Regions from separate parts of the Homo sapiens genome. Here region 2 is linked to region 1. The links are contacts of gene promoters, found by promoter capture Hi-C in human tissues and cell types (Jung and others, 2019). All regions are on one chromosome and are shown on one strand. The core of a region is centred on a gene start or on the middle of the fragment in contact, and the rest is flanking DNA. Distances in the headings are between cores, read along the strand shown. Region 1 holds the start of TRAIP (TRAF interacting protein). Region 2 overlaps CIMIP7 (ciliary microtubule inner protein 7).

What was found. The method cuts DNA at HindIII sites, captures the fragments that hold promoters and counts their contacts. A contact is called where the count stands out against the background at its distance.
Region 2: a fragment that was not itself captured here is called in contact with the fragment with the promoter of TRAIP in region 1 in 2 of the 25 tissues and cell types used here (adrenal gland and pancreas).

Annotation. Positions count from the first base shown.
Region 1 is chr3:49,853,446-49,859,659 of GRCh38, forward strand. TRAIP (TRAF interacting protein) reads right to left here and starts at 3,119. Exons shown (of 15, transcript NM_005879.3): 1 at 2,911-3,119. The coding sequence starts at 3,008. CAMKV (CaM kinase like vesicle associated) reads right to left here. Exons shown (of 11, transcript NM_024046.5): 11 at 4,544-6,214. The coding sequence ends at 5,873. The HindIII fragment of the contact is 12,385 bases long and covers 1-5,932 here.
Region 2 is chr3:49,178,153-49,184,033 of GRCh38, forward strand. CIMIP7 (ciliary microtubule inner protein 7) reads right to left here. Exons shown (of 4, transcript NM_001080528.3): 3 at 330-386. Among named protein-coding and RNA genes, the nearest start is that of KLHDC8B, 9.5 kb to the left of the region's middle. The HindIII fragment of the contact is 5,587 bases long and covers 1-5,208 here.

The sequences.
Region 1 (6,214 bases), core at 1,869-4,368:
AATAATAAAATAAAATAAAATAAAACAGATGAAAAAAGATATACCATGCAGTCACCAAAAGACAGCTGAAGTGGCTATACTAATAGCAGATAAAATGGACTTTAAATTAGACAAGATAGGCCAGGCACGGTAGCTCACGCCTGTAATCCCAGCACTTTGGGAGGCCGAGGTGGGCGGATCACGAGGTCAGGAGTTTGAGACCAGTCTGGCCAACATAGTGAAACTCTGCCTCTACTAAAAATACAAAAAAAATTAGCCAGGCACAGTGGTGTGTGCCTGTAATCCCAGCTACTCGGGAGGCTGAGGTAGGAGAATCACGTGAACCCAAGAGGCAGAGGTTGCAGTGAGCCAAGATTGCGCCACTGCACTCCAGTCTGGGCCACAGAACGAGACTCCATCTCAAAAAAAAAATTAGGCAAGACAGACTTTGAATTAAAGTTACAAGAGACAAAGAAGGACAAAGAAGAACATTTAAAAAAAGTTCAATCCTGCAAGAAGAAACAATTATAAACTCCAGCCTGGGCGACACAGCACGATCCTGTTTCAAAAAAAAAAAAAAATTATTCCAAACAAAAACTTTACTTAAAAACATACAATTGGCCGGTCGTGGTGGCTCATGCCTGTAAACCCCAGCACTTTGGCAGGCCAAGGAGGGTGGATCACTTGAGTACAGGAGTTTCAAACCAGCCTGGGCAGCATGGCGAAATCCTGTCTCTACAAAAAACAAAAATTAGCTGGGCATGGTGACATGCACCTGTAGTCCCAGCTAGTTGTGAGGCTGAGGCAGGAGGATCGCTTGAGTCCAGGAGGTCAAGGCTGCAGTGAGCAGAGATTGTACCACTGCAGACCAGCTTGGGCAAGAGAGCAGGACTCTGTCTCAAAAATAACACCAACGAAAAAAATACCACACATACACACAATTAAAATATTCAACAATAACGTAGAAGTGGGAAAAGAATGTTAGTATTCTAAGCTCTTTGAGTTGCCTGGGAAAATGAGAAAGGTGTTGATTAACCTTGAAATTGGTAAGTTAAGGATACATACCTTAATTTCTAGGATAACCACTTATAAATGGAAATGGGGTATATAACGACCCAACTAACTGAGGGAAAAATGGAGAAATACAGAATATTTAACCAATTCCTACCAAGGCAAGAAAGGAGACAATAAGATATAATAGGCAAGGCAAAACAGAATCGACTAAAGACAATATGTTTACTCTTTATTTAATCAGTAATTGCAACAATTTTAAGTAGACTAAATGGTCCAGTTAAATACAAAGATTATCAGACTGGATTTTTAAAAGTCCAACTAAATGTTGTTTTCCAAGGCTGGGTGCGGTGGTTCACACCTGTAATCCTAGCACTTTGGGAGGCAGAGGTGGGTGGATTACTTGAGTCCAGGGGTTCAAGACCAGCCTGGGCAACATAGCAAGACCCCATCTCTACTAAAAATACAAAAAAAAAAAAATAGTCAAGCATGGTGGCAGGCGCCTGTAGTCCCAGCTACTTGGGAGGCTAAGATGGGAGAATCACCTTAGCCCAGGAGGTAGAGGCTGCAGTGAGCCGAGATGGCACCACTGCACTGCAGCCTGTGTAACAGAGTGAGACCCTGTCTCAAAATAAAATAAAATAAAGATCTTTGCAGTAAGCTAAAGTACTTTTTAATATACAAAAAAAGAAATAAATGCTGTTTCAAGGGATACATGTAAAACACAAGGACACAGAAAAGTTTAAAGTAAAAGGATAGGCCCTAGCACTTTGAGAGGCCAAGGTGGGTGGATCACCTGAAGTCAGGAGTTCGAGACCAGCCTGGCCAACATGGAGAAACCCTGTCTATGAAAAACACAAAAATTAGCTGGGCGTGGTGGCGCACGCCTGTAATGTCAGCTACTTGGGAGGCTGAGGAAGGAGAATCACTTGAACTCAGGAGGTGGAGGTTGCAGTGAGCCGAGATCACGCCACTGCACTCCAGCCTACACGACAGGAGCGAGACTCCATCTCAAAAATAAAATAAAATAAAAATAAATAAATAAAGTAAAAGGATAGAAGAAAATAGAGTAGGCAAACAGAAAATAGAGTACGCTTAGAGGCGAGCTTAATTTCTAGTCTAACCAAACAGCAGTGGCTCCCTCAGCATGGGGCTCAGGCTGTCAGCAACACAGGCCTAAACAAAGCTTTGCAAGTAAGCCAGCAGCCATCAGTGTCATGCCTGCCTTTCTGCTTCCTAGGGCCTTTAGCCCCACAAGACCCTGTGATTATTATCACCCACCATTCCCAGGGGTAACGCTGCCTTATCTCTTTTGCTAGGAGGTCCAAACCGGCCTGTCCACATCTGCTAGGGGAATCTTTCCCCACTAGCTGTACACTCAACAGAATGGCCCTACACGGTCAGCAGGACCCCTGGATAGGGGAGCATCTCCTTGCCTTCCCCATGTTAAACGGGTTTGCTGACATGGCGAATACATTGGGGTGTCTGGACAGTGAGATGACTCTGGGTAGAATAATTCCAAACCATCAAGTAAGGCACAGCAAACTCTCTTGGGTAGCCAGAAGCCTAGCAGGTTTCTATCTGGAAGAAATAAAAGGACTTGTTGATGTGGTGAAAGCTCACCCTTGCCCAGGCTAACGGTTTTGAAATCACATCTGTTTGTATAGGTGATCAAGGAAGCATCTATCTTCACTGAGCCATCTTAGTCCCCCTCAGGCTTAGCTCAGCTATCACCTCTACCAGAAAGCCTGTCCTGACCCACTTCTGCCCAGGTTGGGAAGCTCCCGTGGGGCCTCGTCTAGGAGGAAGGTTCTCATCACTTGTCTGGATTCCGGGGTTGGACCGCCTGGAGGCCCAACACCTCAAGGCCCTGAAGCGGTACCCGGGCAAACACCGGGCCCCAACACTGCAGTCACTCACCACTGCAAGTGGAAGGTGTGGCCGCAGTGGATGGCGGCCACGTCGCGGGAGTGATCGAAGAAGTCGGAGCAGATAGTGCACAGAGCACGGATAGGCATGATGGCTGGACTCAAGGGGCCCAGGCAGCCAAAGAAACTGCTACAGGTCCGGCTTCGTAGACGCGCCCCCGCGCCTCCGCTTGCTTCAAATTTGGCTCCGCAGCACGACTTCCTGGAGCGGGCCGGAAGTGACAACACAAAACTTTGGGCGGAGCGTGAATACTTCGCCTGGATTGGACAAATTCTCGGATGGGCGGAACTATGGGCGGGGCTTAGCGGCCCCGAGGCCGTAGAGAATCCTGGGCGGAGCGCGGTCGCTCTCAGGCGTCCTCTGGGGAGACTCGACCTGCCACTTGAGAGCGCAGCATTATATCAAGGCGGGGAGCAGCGAGGCTGCCAGCTGGACCCTTTTCCAGGGCAAGGCAGCGCATTGTGGTCCCATGCCAGAGCTGGCGCGAGGCAGGCTGGGCCAAGGCAGAGAAAACCGCAGCCGCAAGGGAATAGAACAATGGTCCCGATGGGTCCCTTGGGCTCTGGACAGTGATGGACCATGCGCTATGGTCTGTAGTTCCCATAGACCACAATACCCTACCCTCTCAGTCCTCAGTTCCGGGCGATTCTAGAAAGATGGACACATAGGCCCCAGTCCCTCAGGTCACCCCAGGCCAACCTTGGCTTCATCCAAGTAAGATATGACTATCCTTGAGTTTGGAGACACTAGGGCCAGTACCCTGACTTTAGCTCTTAGCTCTCAGGAGGATCAGTTATGCTTGAGACTGTAGTAGGGTTGGAATTTTGGAGGCCCAGATGCTTCAAAGACTAGAGACTAACAAATCCTTTTTATTATTCCCACATCAGAGAAGTTATCTTTGAGGAGGTTATCTTTGAGGTCCTCCCAGAGAGCAGCATCCCTGGTGAGTTCACCCAGGCCCACCTGGGCTGGAGTAAGTCAACTTTTGGGTTTTTAGGCTTAGTATCTGTGGCAGTGTTACTCCCTCTACCCAGAAGAAACCCTGTGCATAGTCCCATAATATAAAGCTGATCTGCTCCAGCTGAAATAGACCCAGAGTGAGATTTCATTTGGGGCATAGGTGGAAAGCACAGGTGTTCACAGAAAGAAGGAATCAACACAGAGCAGCATAGAATCTTTGTGCATTGCTCACCCTACACCCTCTCCCTAGCTCAGGGAAGCTATCTTTGGCTATGAGCAGGGTCTGTCCTTGCGGTGGCTGGCCCAGGTAGATTCCAGCTCTATGCCTAAATCAAGAGTAAGGCTCCTCGGTCAACAGGAGTCAAAAACAGCAGCCCTTACTTGAGCTCTCAGCCCAGGGAGTATTCCTTGGTCCAAATGCAGCCCAAGACCCACTACTCACATGGATTTCTAGAGTTCAGAGGACCCCCACCACCACCACCATTGAGGAATACACTGTGGTGAGGATGATCTTCACCCTCAGCCCAAGAAATCCACAGGGCACTGTTCACTACTACTCCCAGCCACTACTTGTGAACCTGCTCCCAGCCTCTCCCTTCCCCACTGCCTTCCAGGGGCTCCTCCCCAGTAGGACAGAGGAAGCAAAGGCGAGAGGGTGGCCAGAGGCTTTGCAGGGTGATGTTTATTTGCCAGGTTCAGTAGGCACACAGTTAACCCACCGACCTTCACACACCAGAGCAGACCCACAGGCATGCAGGGAGAAGGGCAGGACCACCACGGAGTGCCGAGCAAGGGCGAGGACCAATGTGGCTGCCTATCCAGGCTGTGGTAGGGTCTGACAAAGGGCACCTGTCAGGAGCCTCCCTCAGGAAACTGGGGAGTTTAACCCTACTTCCTCATCCCAGAAAAAGCAACTCAATGTGGCTCTGAGGCACCTGGGCCTCTGATAGAAGTGAGCTGTAGAAAGAGGGAGTTCCTCTTCATTTCATTGTTGAACTGAGCAGAAAATCTGCCCCTGTAAAGGGCAAACCTCCAAATCAGATTATGAGTTATTGCCATGCAGCAAGCCCCCTAGGGTGGAGAGGACTTGTGGGCTGAGATTGTAGGAGGTGGGCATCTAGGAAGAGCAAGGAGGTATCAGCCCTCCCTGTTTGGCCCAGGGTAAGGACCCAGTAAGGCTGGGACACTGGGTGCTGGGCTTGTACTCTGCCCTGCCAGGTCTCATTGCCACGTCCTAATTGTTCCTCCTTTCCCTTAGAGGCTCATGAGGTTCAGGGTACAGGGCAGCCCACTGCAGGACTCGGAAAGGCAGGAAATAACACAAATAACAGGGTCTTAGGAAGGACAAAAATGGAAGCTTCTGCCCTCCTACTCATTCTCTCCACTCCTGAGGACCTCCACAGCTAGTGAGCAGTATCCCTAGCCATGTGCCAAGTCTGGACTTAAACATACTGCCCTACCTTTCTGCATCCTCTATACCAGCCTGTATCTGCTCCTAGAGCAGCCCACACACCACAGGCACACACCTTCATGTGCAGGAGCCTAAGACCGCTGACAGGGCCTCGCTGGAGGACCAGCTCTCAGGGCAAGGCCGCCCAAGTTTAGGGCCTGGGAGAGTGTGGGACCTGCAGGGCCTGCCTAGGGGAATGGTGAGGCAAGAAGGGAAGGGGAAGGAGAGCAGGAGCCCCCTGAGTATCCCTAGAGCAGCATCCCACAAGGAACAGAAACTGGTGAAGCTAGCAAAAGACAGAAAAGCCACAAGGAATCCATGCAGGGGCTGGGGCCGGCCCTGCCACTGGCCTGCCCACCACTCACACACATACACACAGGAGACGAGACTGCTCTCCCGTGACCCCTAGTTATGCCCCACTGGGATGTGGGGGCATGGGGGAGCGAGGGCATCATGCCAGTGACTCTATGTACAGTGAGAAGCCCCTCATCCACTCTCCCACCCTCCTGCCCATCCCCTGCCCCCCCTCACCAGGCTGCCTACTCAGCTGGCCTCCTCCCTTTGAGACTCCTGGGCATAACCAGCAGCCTCTTCCCCTTTACTAGAGGGTGGAGCCTGGCCTGTGGCGCCCTCTGGGGCTGTGCTGTCCGGCTGGGCCATAGCCGGCTCAGGGGTGGCAGCTGCCTTGGTGGCCAGCATGGCACTGCTTTGGGTGGTGGGCACAGTGCTCTCTTCTGTGGCTGGTGTGGCTCTCCCATCAGTGGCTGGAGTAGCGCTCCTGTCAGTGGCTGGGGTGACACTCCCATCAGTGGCTGGAGTGATGCTTCCATCGGTGGCTGGGGTGACACTGCCATCAGTGGCTGGGGTGGCACTTCCATCTGTGGC
Region 2 (5,881 bases), core at 1,165-3,664, 680 kb before region 1:
TGGCTGTCTTGGCCTGTACCCTGGCCTCCTTGGCCTGCCTCCCCAGTGATGTCTTTCATTCTAAGGTGAAGCACCCAGAAAGTTAGTGGCCCACAGGATACTTGCATATTGTCTGGCAAGTTGGCAGAGGAAACCAACATAGAGATGTCTCTGTTTGGGGGAATAGGCTGTTTCCCAGAGGAGAAAGTTTGTGGGGGAAGACAGCCACTCCTCTGCCTTCATAAGGAGCCCTCCCTCAGTGTCATCCCCTCCACCCTACCATCTGCTCTGTCCAGACTTCAGCTTAGGCTGGGGGACTGCCTGCCATTCTTCCTGTCTTCGGCACTCACTTTGTCAAAGGAAGTACGGTTGTCGTGCTTGGAGAAGAAGTGTCGCTGCGCCGGCTCCTTGAAAGACAGTGAGAAAGAAGGTGAATGGGGAAAATGATGCTTATTTACCCACCCTTACCTGGATCACTGCCTCAGGGTCCTTAATGGAGGGAAGTCACCAGGAGCCACTGCCCCTAAGCTGCTAAACTGCCAACAGACAGAGGGCAGAGACTAATTAAAGCAACACTTCAGTCCTGGGATATCTCAACCTGGGACTTGCCCTGAAGCAGAAGCCCGTGGAACCCTTATTGAGGAGGGTCCTCAATAAGGAGGCATCTGCTAGAACATCCTCCCATCAGGGGAGCAGTGGCCAAGTTTCAAGTTGGGCCTTAACTCTTGATTGCCCAGGACTCTAGTCCTCTCCTCCCCTGCATCCACACTTACTCCCCCATCAACATACCCAGCCTCTTGGCTCTAAATGCCATCTGAAAACTGGAATTTCTATCTCCAGCTCAAACTTTCTCCTGAACTTTGGGTTCAGTAGACAACTGCCTACTCCACATCTCCATGTAAATGCCTAATTGAGCATCTCCAAACATATGACTGAGCTTTGGGTCATCCCCAGACACACTCCACCTATAGCCTCCCCCAGCTCAGACCACGGCAGCCAGATCCTGTCAAACACCTTGAGTCCCCTTGATTCTCTTCTCTCATACCCCACATTGAATATGCAAGTATCCTGTTGATACTGTGGTCAAAATGTGCCCAGGACCAGACCACATCTCAGCATGCCCACTCTTTTCCCCGATCCAAGCCACATTACTCTCTTGCCTGAATTATTGCAAGAGCTTCCTGCCTGGTGTCCCTGCTTTCAAACTTACCCCTCCAGTCTGCTGTCTGCTTAGCAGCCAGCATAATTCTGTTAGTACATAAATGAGATCACATCTCATTTGCTGAAAATCCACAACAGTTCCTCCTATTTGTGATAGCCAAAGTCATCATAGTGGTCTGTGAGACCCACATGATATTGGTCCTTCTGTTACCTCCAGCCACACTGATTTCCTCACTGCTCCTCAGACACACCAGGTGCTCCCACTTAGGGCTTTGCACCACCTGTTCCTTCTCCTGGCCATATAATTCCCTCACACCTCCCTCTTTTCCTTCCTTGAGCACTAGGCCAATAGTTCCATCACCCTAACCCTGCATTTTTCACCTGCTAACATACTATATTGTTCTATGTGATGTTACCCCCACTGATTAGAACATCTCATGCCCCGCCATTAAACATAAGCTGCTTGTGGGCAAAGGCGGTCTGTCTTGCTCACATCTATAACTTCAGCACTGAGAATAATGCCTGACACAGCTCAATAAATGTTGCTGTTAAATCAATAAACAGGCTGGGCACGGTGGCTCACACCTGTAATCCCAGCACTTTGGGAGGCCGAGGCGGGTGGATCACCTGAGGTCAGGAGTTTGAGACCAGCCTGGCCAACATAGTGAAACCCCGTTTTTACTAAAAATACAAAAATTAGCCGGGCTTGGTGGCTCATGCCTGTAATCCCAGCACTTTGGGAGGCCGAGGCGGACAGATCACTTGAGGTCAGGAGTTCGAGACCAACCTGGCCAACATGGTGAAACCCCGTCTCTACTAAAACACACAAAAAAATTAGCTGGGTGTGATGGTGTTTGGCTGTAATCCCAGCTACTCAGGAGGCTGAAGCAGGAGAATTGCTTAAACCTGGGAGGCAGAGGTTGCAGTGAGCTAAGATTGAGCCACTGCACTCCAGCCTGGGCAACAGAAAAAAAAAAATTAATGAACAGGGACAGAAGGTCCTGGCCCCAGGGCATTTACTTTGGCTCAGTTGGAGCTAGAGAGCCTTGCTCCACTCCCATGCAGAGAAAGCCCATCTCTTAGGCCTCCAGACTTCAGCAGGAATCTGTCCCAAGAACACCTTCTTGCCTTTGTGCTTGGCTTCTGCCTGCAGAGCCATTCCCTCTCCAGTCACTCAGTTTCTCCTGCTGTAGACCTGAAGTGGCCAGATCTGGTGAGGTCAGGCTTGGCTGGCTTGGGAGTATAGGTAATGGCTGACAGCAGGTCCCCAGATAAAATACAGGGGCTGGCTCCATCCCTGAACCAGAATCTTCAGAGTAGAGCTTATTGTATGTGTGTTTAAGAGTTCCCTTTTTAGGCCAGGTGCGGTGGCTCACGCCTGTAATCCCAGCACTTTGGGAGGCCGAGGCGGGCGGATCACGAGGTCAGGAGATCGAGACCATCCTGGCTATCATGGTGAAACCCCGTCTCTACTAAAAATACAAAAAATGTGCTGGGTGTGATGGCGGGCGCCTGTAGTCCCAGCTACTCGGGAGGTTGAGGCAGGAGAATGGCGTGAACCCGGGAGGTGGAGCTTGTAGTTAGCTGAGATCACACCACTGCACTCCAGCCTGGGCGACAGAGTGAGACTCCGTCTCAAAAAAAAAAAAAAAAAAAAAAGAGTTCCCTTTTTAGAACCGCCTGCCTTAGACAGTCTGATGGTAGTCTTCAAGCAGAATGAAAACTCCAAGAAGGTGGGAAGCTTTCATTCCTCAAAATGCAAGCTGAGGCTGGGCACAGTGGCTCATGCCTATAATCCCAGCAGTTTGGGAGGCAGAGGCGGATAGATCACTTGAAGCCAGGAATTCGAGACCAGCCTGGCCAACATGGTGAAACCTTGTCTCTACTGAAAATACAAAAATTAGCTAGGTGTGGTGGTGGGCGCCTGTAATCCCAGCTACTCGAAAGGCTGAGGCAGGAGAATTGCTTGAACTTGGGTGGTGGAGGTTGCAGTGAGCCGAGATCTCACCACTGCACTCCAGCCTTGGCAACAGAGAGACTCTATCTCCAAGAAAAAAAAAAAAAAAAAAGCAAGCTGAGGCCGTGCAGTGGCTTACACCCGTAATCCCAGGACTTTGAGAGGCCAAGGAGGAAAGATTGCTTGAGCCCAGGAGTTCAAGACCGGCCTGGGCAGTGTGGAAAGGCTCCCAGACACTGTCTCTACAAAAAATAACAAATTAGCCAGGCGTGGTGGTGCATACCTGTGGTCCCAGCAACTAGGAAAGCTGAAGTGGAAGGATCACATGAGCTTAAGAGGTCAAGGGTGCAATGAGCCATGATCGTGCCACTGCGAACCAAGCTACAGACTGGGAGAAAATATTTATAAACCATATATCCAACAGAGGACTAGAATATATAAGGAAGTCTCTCAACTCAACAGTAAAATCACAGTCTAATTAGAAAATGGACAAACATGAAGACATCTAACCAAAGAAGATTTACAGACGACAAATAACACATGAAAATGTGTCCGGAATGGGTGGGTTCTTCGTCTCACTGACATCAAGACTGAAGCCGCGGACCCTCGCGGTGAGTGTTAACAGTTCTTAAAGGCGGCATGTCCGGAGTTTGTTCCTTCTGACGTTCGGATGTGTTCCCAGTTTCTTCCTTCTGGTGGGTTCGTGGTCTCGCTGGCTCAGGAGTGAAGCTGCAGACCTCCGCGGTGAGTGTTACAGCTCTTCAGGCGGCGCGTCTGGAGTTGTTCGTTCCTCCGGGTGGGTTCGTGGTCTCACTGGCTTCAGGAGTGAAGCTGCAGACCTTCGTGGTGAGTGTTACAACTCATAAAGGCAGCGTGGACCCAAAGAGTGAGCAGCAGCAAGATTTATTGCAAGGAGTGAAAGAACAAAGCCTCCACAGCGTGGAAGGGGACCAAAGCGGGTTGCCACTGCTGGCTGGGGCAGCCTGCTTTTATGCTCTTATCTGGCCCCACCCACATCCTGCTGATTGGTAGAGCCCAGTAGTCTGTTTTGACAGGGCACTGATTGGTGCGTTTACAATCCCTGAGCTAGACACAAAGGTTCTCCACTTCCCCACCAGATTAGCTAGATACAGAGTGTGGACACAAAGGTTCTCCAAGTCCCCCACCAGAGTAGCTAGATACAGAATGTCAATTGGTGCATTCACAAACCCTGAGCTAGACACAGGGTGCTGATTGGTGTGTTTACAAACCTTGAGCTAGATACAGAGTGCCCATTGGTGTATTTACAATCCCTTAGCTAGACATAAAGGTTCTCCAAGTCCCCACCAGACTCAGGAGCCCAGCTGGCTTCACCCAGTGGATCCCGCACTGGGGCTGCAGGTGGAGCTGCCTGCCAGTCCCGCGCCGTGTGCCCACACTTCTCAGCCCTTGGGTGGTCAATGGGACTGGATGCCATGGAGCAGGGGGCGGCGCTTGTTGGGGAGGCTCGGGCTGCACAGGAGCCCAGGGAGTGAAGGGGGAGGTTCAGGCATGGCAGGCTGCAGGTCCCGAGCCCTGCCCCGCGGGAAGGCAGCTAAGGCCTGGCGAGAAATTCAGCACAGCAGCTGCTGGCCCAGGTGCTAAGCCCCTCACTGCCCGGGGCGGGGGGGCCAGCCACTCCGAGTGCAGCCCGCTGAGCCCATGCCCACCCGGAACTCACGCTGGCCGGCAAGTACAGCGCGCAGCCCCAGTTCCCCCTCTGGCCTCTCCCTCCATACCTCCCCGCGAGCTGAGGGAGCCGTCTCGGGCCTCGGCAAGCCCAGGAAGGGGCTCCCACAGCGCAGCGGCGGGCTGAAGGGCTCCTCAAGTGCCCCAAAGTGGGAGTCCAGGCAGAGGAGGTGCCGAGAGCAAGCAAGGGCTGTGAGGGCTGCCAGCACGCTGTCACCTCTCAAAAAGATATTCATCATTAAACATCAGGGAAATGCAAATTAAAACCACAATAAGATATCACTACACATCTATCAGAATGGCTCCAATTGAAAATGGAGACAACATCAGGTATTGGTGAGAATGCAGAGAAACCAGATCATTCATGCATTGCTGGTAGGAATATAAAGTGGTAAAGCCACTCTCAAAAACAGTTTGGCAGTTTCTTTTAAAAACTAAACATGCAGCCGGGCGCGGTGGCTCATCCTGTAATCCCAGCACTTTGGTAGGCTGAGGTGGGTGGATAACCTGAGGTCAGGAGTTCAAGACCAGCCTGGCCAATATGGTGAAACCCTGTCTCTACTAAAAATACAAAAATTAGCTGGGCATGGTGGCACACACCTGTAATGAGATTGCTTGAGCCCGGGAGGCGGAGGTTGCAGTGAGCTGAGATCGTGCCACTGCACTCCAGCCTGGCCGACAGAGTGAGACTCTGTCTCGAAAACAAAACAAAACAACAAAAACACTAAACATGCAACTACCACATGACCCAGCAATTGTATTCCTGGGCATTTATCCCAGAGAGACAAAAACATATGTTCAACCAAAAGTTTATATACAAATATTCTTAACAGCTTTATTTGTATGAGCCAAAAACTGGAATCAGGTCAGATATCCTTTAACAGATGAATGATTAAACAAACTGGTACATTGGTACCAAGGAAATACTACTCAGTAAATGAAAATAAATGAACTATTGATACACACAATAATTTGGATGAATCTCTAGGAAATTATGCTGCAAAAATAGCCAGTCTCCAAAGGGTGCATATTGTATTATTCTATTTATATAACTGTTTTTGAGACAAGGTCTCACTC